Linked DNA regions of Homo sapiens: region 1 is linked to region 2. Evidence: promoter capture Hi-C in 16 types of primary human blood cells and fetal thymus (Javierre and others, 2016). All regions are on one chromosome and are shown on one strand. Each heading gives the region's core, a stretch centred on a gene start or on the middle of the fragment in contact. The rest is flanking DNA. Distances are from core to core; before and after follow the strand shown.

Evidence for each region. Contacts are between HindIII fragments. The CHiCAGO score rates a contact against its expected background, and 5 or more counts as called.
Region 1: the fragment with the promoter of ITGAD here is called in contact with the fragment with the promoter of PRSS53 in region 2 in 1 of 17 cell types (neutrophils); the score reaches 6.8 in neutrophils.

The regions. Positions count from the first base shown.
Region 1 is chr16:31,391,116-31,394,644 of GRCh38, reverse strand. ITGAD (integrin subunit alpha D) reads right to left here and starts at 1,310. Exons shown (of 30, transcript NM_005353.3): 1 at 1,254-1,310; 2 at 304-409. The coding sequence starts at 1,284. The HindIII fragment of the contact is 1,676 bases long and covers 1,227-2,902 here.
Region 2 is chr16:31,087,248-31,090,643 of GRCh38, reverse strand. It overlaps PRSS53 (serine protease 53), which reads left to right and starts at 1,701. Exons shown (of 11, transcript NM_001039503.3): 1 at 1,701-1,892; 2 at 2,818-2,838; 3 at 2,945-3,107. The coding sequence starts at 1,835. RefSeq lists an enhancer at 1,524-2,024. The HindIII fragment of the contact is 23,145 bases long and covers 1-3,396 here.

The DNA.
Region 1 (3,529 bases), core at 61-2,560, 300 kb before region 2:
TAAACTCCAAAGTTAATGAGTGTGGGCCCTGTGTGACCATACTGGCCCCAAGAAGTGGGCCCTGCCTGGGAGGCAGGTTCAAGGCTTCCCTCCCGAGGTAAGGTAGGGTCTTGTCTAGAGTTTTGTGGCCTTTCCTGGGATTGAGAATAATAGGTGCTGATGTCAGGGCCTCCAAGGAGCCAAGGGAAGACTTCTCACCCCTGCTGGCCTTCCTCCAGGACACCTCCCTGGGGTAACCCACGTGTACCCATCCACAGGACTTGATGTAGTGGAGGTTGGGGAAGGAGGGTGAGTGGGGCCTACCGAGATCCACCGAACTGCACCACGCTCTGCCCAAAGCCGCCTGCATCCTCCTGGAAGATCGTAGGCTCCTCCACATCCAGGTTGAATCCATGATAAGAAGCCAGGACTGAGGAATATTTGGTGGGCGGGGAGGCTGGGAGTTAAAGAAGCCCCAATCCCTAGGACCTCCCAGCCTCTTTTTCTTTTTTTTCTTTTTTTTTTTTTTTTTTTTGAGATGGAGTCTCGCTCTGTTGCTGAGGCTGGAGTGCAACGGCACGATCTCAGCTCACTGCAACTTCCGTCTCCTGGGTTCAAGCGATTCTCTTGCCTCAGCTTCCCAAGTAGCTGGGATTACAAGTGCACGCCACCATGCCCGGCTAATTTTTATATTTTTGGTAAAGATGGGGTTTCACCATGTTGGCCAGGCTGGTCACAAACTCCTGACCTCAGGGGATACGCCCATCTCGGCCTCCCAAAGTGCTGGGATTATAAGCATGAGCCACCGCACCCAGCCAAGCCTGATTTTTGATGGCACGTGAATGTGACTCTGATGCAGTTTTCAGCAGGGGGCCTCTTCCCTACGTGCAGTCAGGACTTGGGGGAAACAGGCCCAGGGAGGTGATGTCCAACCTTTCCCCCTCCCTGGTGGCTTCTGTGGCCTTCCACTCCCGGGGGAGGCTGGGGAGACCTCTGTCACCCACACCAGGGACTCCATGAGTGGGAGCAGGGAAGCCTGGGACAACATAGCCAGCTGGAGAGGTAGCTTAGTCGCCACCTGAGCACAGCCCCTGAGCCCCTCTTCATTCAGGTCACACTCTACTGACTCCGGGCCACTCGCACATGAAGCACTCCCCTGCCTCAGCTCCTCATAAGAGTGGTTGGAGCCGACCACCAGCCCCCAGCCTGCCCTCCCAGATGGAGTCCCCTCAGAACTCCTCCAAGCTTCTCCCCAGCACCCTGGCCCCACTTACCACTCAGAAGAAGCACAGTGCCGAAGGTCATCCCTGAGCAGCGCGTTGAGGGGAAGTGGAAGGTTGGGGACAGAGCACAGAAGGTGCTCACCCTCCCAGGGGGTAGTTAAAATAATGATTCAGGGCCTCCACACAGCAGGAAGAGGGGCACAGTGGGTAGGAGGGGCGTGGTTAATTATGGAACAGAAGTGGGGGCAGGGGCCAACAACACCCTGGGGAAAAACCCTCATTCTGTCCCCCTCCACAACCTGCAGGGACCTGGCTTCCTTCTCCCAGAAGACCACCCTCCCCCAGGCCTCAGGAGCCAGTTGGTACCCAGGGAGCCCCGTAGCTCTCTGAGGTCCCACAGGAGTGGAAGGACAGGAAGCAGAATGGCTGCAGAGGTCTTGGCATGTGGATGTGAGCCGGCAGAGAGGCAGGGAGAAGGGGAGCTAGGCCAGGGTGTGGTTTCAAAAAGCAGAGCCCCTCCAGAGGAGAATGGACACCCAAAATAATAAAGTCATGCCATGGGCTACTACTCAGCAAGAAATAAGATCAAACTACAGATCAGATGCCATGGCTCATGCCTGTGGTCCCAGAGCTTGGCAGGTGGATTGCTTGAGGCCAACAGTTCGAGACCAGCCTAGGCAACATAGCCAGACCCTGTCTTTACAATAAATAACAAAGAACAAACTGCAGTTCTGTACAACAATACAGGTTAACTCAATTTTATCTTAAGTGAAAGAAACCAGACACCAGAATGCCTAATGTCTGGTTCCTTTCATATACAAGAGAATGGGCAAAATTCATCTACGAAGATAGAAATCAGAAGAGTGGTTGTCTATGGTGGGGCAGAGAGGAAACTTTTTTTTTTTTTGACAAGTTTTGCTATGTCGCCCATGCTGGAATGCAGTGGCATGATCAGGGCTCACTGCAGCCTCAAATTCCCAGACTCAAGCAATTCTCCCACCTCAGCCTCCCAGTCACTGGGATTACTGATGCACACCACCATGCCCAGCTAATTTTTTTGTTTTTTGTAGAGACGAGATCGCACTATGTTGCCCATGCTGGTCTCGAGCTCCTGGACTCAAGCAATCCTCCCACCTCCTCCTCCCAAAGTACTGGGATTACAGGCGTGAGCCACCACATCCAGCCAGGAACCTTTAGCATGTGTTAAATTTAGCATTTAACACAATATTTTAATATTTATTACATGGGGTTGGGGAGAAGATAAATGAGTGGTTGTTATTTATTTTCTGTGATTTTTCTGTATGTTTGAAATATTCCATGATTAAACATAAAAGTTCCTTTAAAATGTGAAAAAGAAAAAGGTCTATATATAAAAGGCTAGGAATAGGCCAGGCGCAGTGGCTCACACCTATAATCCCAGCACTTTGAGAGGCTGAGGTGGATGGATCACCTGAGGTCAGGAGTTTGAGACCAGCTCTGGCCAATATGGTGAAACCCCGTCTCTACTAAAAATACAAAAATTAGCTGGGCATGGTGGTGCGCACCTGTAATCCCAGCTACTCAGGAGGCTGAGGCAGGAGAATCGCTTGAACCCAGGAGGTAGAGTTTGCAGTGAGTCAAGATTGCGCCACTGCACTCCAGCCTGGGCGACAGAGCAAGACTGTCTCAATAAATAAAAAATAAAAAATAAATAAAAAGCTTAGGAATATACTTTGAAGGTTAAAATATAACAAGATCCCTACCTATAACATAAATTATTTTGTATATATATGTGACAATTATTTAAAACATTTGGCTGGGCACAGTGGCTTATGTCTGTAATTCCAGCACTTTGGGAGGCTGAGGCAGGTGTATAGCTTGAGGTCAGGAGTTCGGGACCAGCCTGGCCAACATGGTGAAACCCCATCTCTACTAAAAATACAAAGATTAGCCAGGCATGGTGGTGCACGCCTGTAATCCCAGCTACTCAGGAAGCTGAGGCAGGAGAATCGCTTAAACCCAGGAGGCAGAGGTTGCAGTGAGTCAAGATCACACCACTGCATTCCAGCGTGGGCAACAGAGCAAGACTCTGTCTCAAAAACAAAACAAAATGAAACAAACAAAACATTTAAAATGTAATTAAACATCAAGTGCAAATAATATGAAATAGTTTTCTATACAAAAATTTTACATCAATTTACTTGAGAGCTGACATTTAATGGACAGAAGAAATTAATTGTGATGCATTAACGATGCCCTTGCAGGAAACCGAGCCGAGGGCTGTGATTGCTAACTTCGAGGCTGACTTATCTACTGCCTTACAAAGACTGCCCAGGCAAAGTGGAGCG
Region 2 (3,396 bases), core at 452-2,951:
CCTGCTGCCCACAGGAGCCAGGCCTCCTCTCCTGGGAAGGCTGAGCACACACCTGGAAGGGCAGGCTGCCCTTCTGGTTCTGTAAATGCTTGCTGGGAAGTTCTTCCTTGAGTTTAACTTTAACCCCTCCAGTTGCCTTATCGACCATTCCAAGCCAGTATTGGTAGCCTTGGAGGGTCAGGGCCAGGTTGTGAAGGTTTTTGTTTTGCCTATTATGCCCTGACCACTTACCTACATGCCAAGCACTGTTTAAGAACTTGTGTTGGCAGGGTGCAGTGGCTCACACCTGTAATCCCTGTACTTTGGGAGGCCAAGGCAGGAGGATCACTTGAGGCCAGGAGTTCCAGACCAGCCTGGGCAAAATAGTGAGACCCCTGTCTCTACAAAAAAAAAAAAAAAAAAAAATTAGCCAGGCATGGTGGTGTATGTACCTATAGTCCCAACTAATCGGGAAGCTGGCGGGAAGACTGCTTGAGCCCAGAAGGTTGAGGCTGCAGTGAGCCATGATCACTGCACTCCAGCCTGAGCAACAGAGCAAGACCGTCTCCAAAAAAAAACAAAAAACAAAAAAAAACTTGTGTTAACGTGTTAAACTCGTTTAATCTTTACAGTGATTTATGAGGTGGGTACTATTATTATCCCTATCTTGATGATAGGGACAGAGTGGCTAATTAGTATGCCTGAGATCACACAGCTACTGCAGGAGGCTCTCAGGATTTGAATCCACCTGGTCCATCTGGCTCCAGCATCTATATGCTTTTTTTTTTGTTGGTTTGTTTTTGAGACGGACTTTCGCTCTTGTTGTCCAGGCTGGAGTGCAATGGCACAATTTCGGCTCACCACAACCTCCACCTCCCAGGTTCAAGTGATTCTCCTGCCTCAGCCTCCCGAGTAGCTGGGATTACAGGCATGCGCCACCAGGCCTGGCTAATTTTGTATTTTTAGTAGAGACAGTGTTTCTCTATGTTGGTCAGGCTGGTCTCGCACTCCCGACCTCAGGTGATCTGCCTGCTTTGGCCTCCCAAAGTGCTGGGATTACAGGCGTGAGCCACCATGCCCGGCCAGCATCTATAATATATGCTAAACCTTACCCACAGCTGCCTCTGTCTTGGGGTCAGGGTTCTTGAATGGTCTGGGCCAGCCTGAGTTAGGAGTGGGAAGAGGAAGAGGAGGCACGCGCCAAAGTGTTCTTCCCGCCTGACCGAGTCCTCTGCGCCTATGAGGAAGGTGGGCACCGCTGTCACCCTGTTTCCCAGGAAGCCAGCAGGCCCAGGGAGATACTGGGATTTGCCAAAGGCTCACAGCGAGCAAGCAGCAGTGGGTGCTGGCTCCTCACCACTCAGCCTGGCACACACTGTCTCTGAGCAGACCTGGGAGAAGGCATGTGAAACCCACCTAGCCCTGGCTGGAAGAGAAGTGGGGGAGTGGAAATGAAAAGTGGGGACTGGGAGGAGCTGCCCACGTGCCCTCCATGGTTCCAGGATGGCACTTTCATGCTGGGAGTGAGCTTGCCCTGTGCCAGGCTGTCATTGAGACGTTTTCCATTCAACAACTGTTTCTCAGACAAGGCACAGGCAGGTTAGCTCTCCCAGGCCACTCAAGTAGTAAGGAAACAGATTTAAACCCAGACAATTTGGCTCCACGGCTAAGGCCCAGAGAGGGGTGGTGACAAGCCTAGGGTCACACAGCCACAGCCCCAGAGCTAGGAACTGCTGGCTAGGGCAAGCAGACAGCTGAATCCTAGCCAACTGGAGGTGGAGCAGAGGTGGAGCCAGGGAGACCCAGGTGGCCTCTCTCAGAGTGGAGCACAGGTGGCAGAGTGGCCCGGGGCAGCATGAAGTGGTGCTGGGGCCCAGTGCTGCTCATCGCGGGTGCCACAGTCCTCATGGAGGGTAAGCCGCCATGTGCTGGGGTATGGGTGTGGCCTGGTGGGGGCTCAGGGGCCATCTCTGCCCCAGCAGTCCCTGCTTCTTGGTGGGGGGACCGCCTGTGGGCGACAGTCCACCAGTGGGGATGTAACTCCGTAGGACTCTGTGGGGTGGTATATGTGGCCACCTGTGTCAACATGGATGAGATTTTCTCGGGCCAGCTGCAGTTTGCGTTGGCGGGGCCTGTGGTCTTGTGTGTGTGTGAGGTGCTGCCTGCGTGTGTCCTGTGCCTGCCTCCCCCTCGACTTCCACAATGACGTCAGGCAAACTCTGGGCTCCTCTGGCCTCAGTTTCCCTTTCTTTTCATCCATCCTCTGGGCAGCCTGGCTCAGCTGTCTCATGGGGTGCCTGTGTGCCTGTGAGGGGCGGTGGGCAGGGGCCCTCTCTCTGGCGGGCTCTCAGACAGTTTCTGGGAAGGTGGGGAAGACTGAGTCTCTAGACCAGGGTGAGGTAAGTCTCCATTTCTTGGGGCCCTCCCCACTTGGAAATGATGCAGGCCTCTAATCCTTCCTCTTAGGCCTCTGCTGCTAAGAGGACAATTAAGCTAATGCTCTCTACACACACAGGCCGCCTGGCTGACTCAGTGGCGGGGGCAGGAGTTGGGGGTTCTGAAGCCTGGAGGAGGGCTGGCCTACTCCCAAGCTGAACCCCAAGCCCCAGAGTGCTGAGCACAGCTGAAGGAGAATTAATTACTGAGTGTGCACACTGAATAGGTTCCAATAAAAGCTGTCTCGGCCTCATATAAATATTTTCATTCTGGGAGGGGCTGGTAAGGTAATCAGAGTCACAGGCAAGGACCCTGGGCCCGCCCCCCAGCCCATCCCCTCTCCTCCCCAAAGCTAGGCAGGCCTGGAGTCCCTGCATCTTACCTGTGTCTCTCTCTTCCCAGGTCTTCAAGCCGCTCAGCGTGGTAAGGTCTGGGGACACGGGGCCTAGGTCTTACTTGGGTCTGGGTTGGGACTGGGGTGAGGTCAGGACAGGTATCTGCTGTCAGTGTGACTAACTCCTTTCCACAGCCTGTGGACAGCGTGGCCCCGGCCCCCCCAAGCCTCAGGAGGGCAACACAGTCCCTGGCGAGTGGCCCTGGCAGGCCAGTGTGAGGAGGCAAGGAGCCCACATCTGCAGCGGCTCCCTGGTGGCAGACACCTGGGTCCTCACTGCTGCCCACTGCTTTGAAAAGTAAGTCATGGCTGGGGTCAGGCAGGGTCTCCGGCTCTGGGGAGTGGACAATTTGTCTCAAGCCCCACAAGGCTAGTCCCTGCCTCTAGAGTAATAATAAAGAACCATTTACTGAGAATCTGCCATGTACTGGGTACATATTGTCAAGTTAATTGTAACAACCACCTTTCATGGTAGAAGATTTACAAATCAGAAAACTCAGGTTGCAAGGGAATGACCTCGCTTAAAGTCACAGACTGAGGCCGGGCACAGTAGCTCACGCTTGTAATCCCAGCCCTTTGGGAGGCCA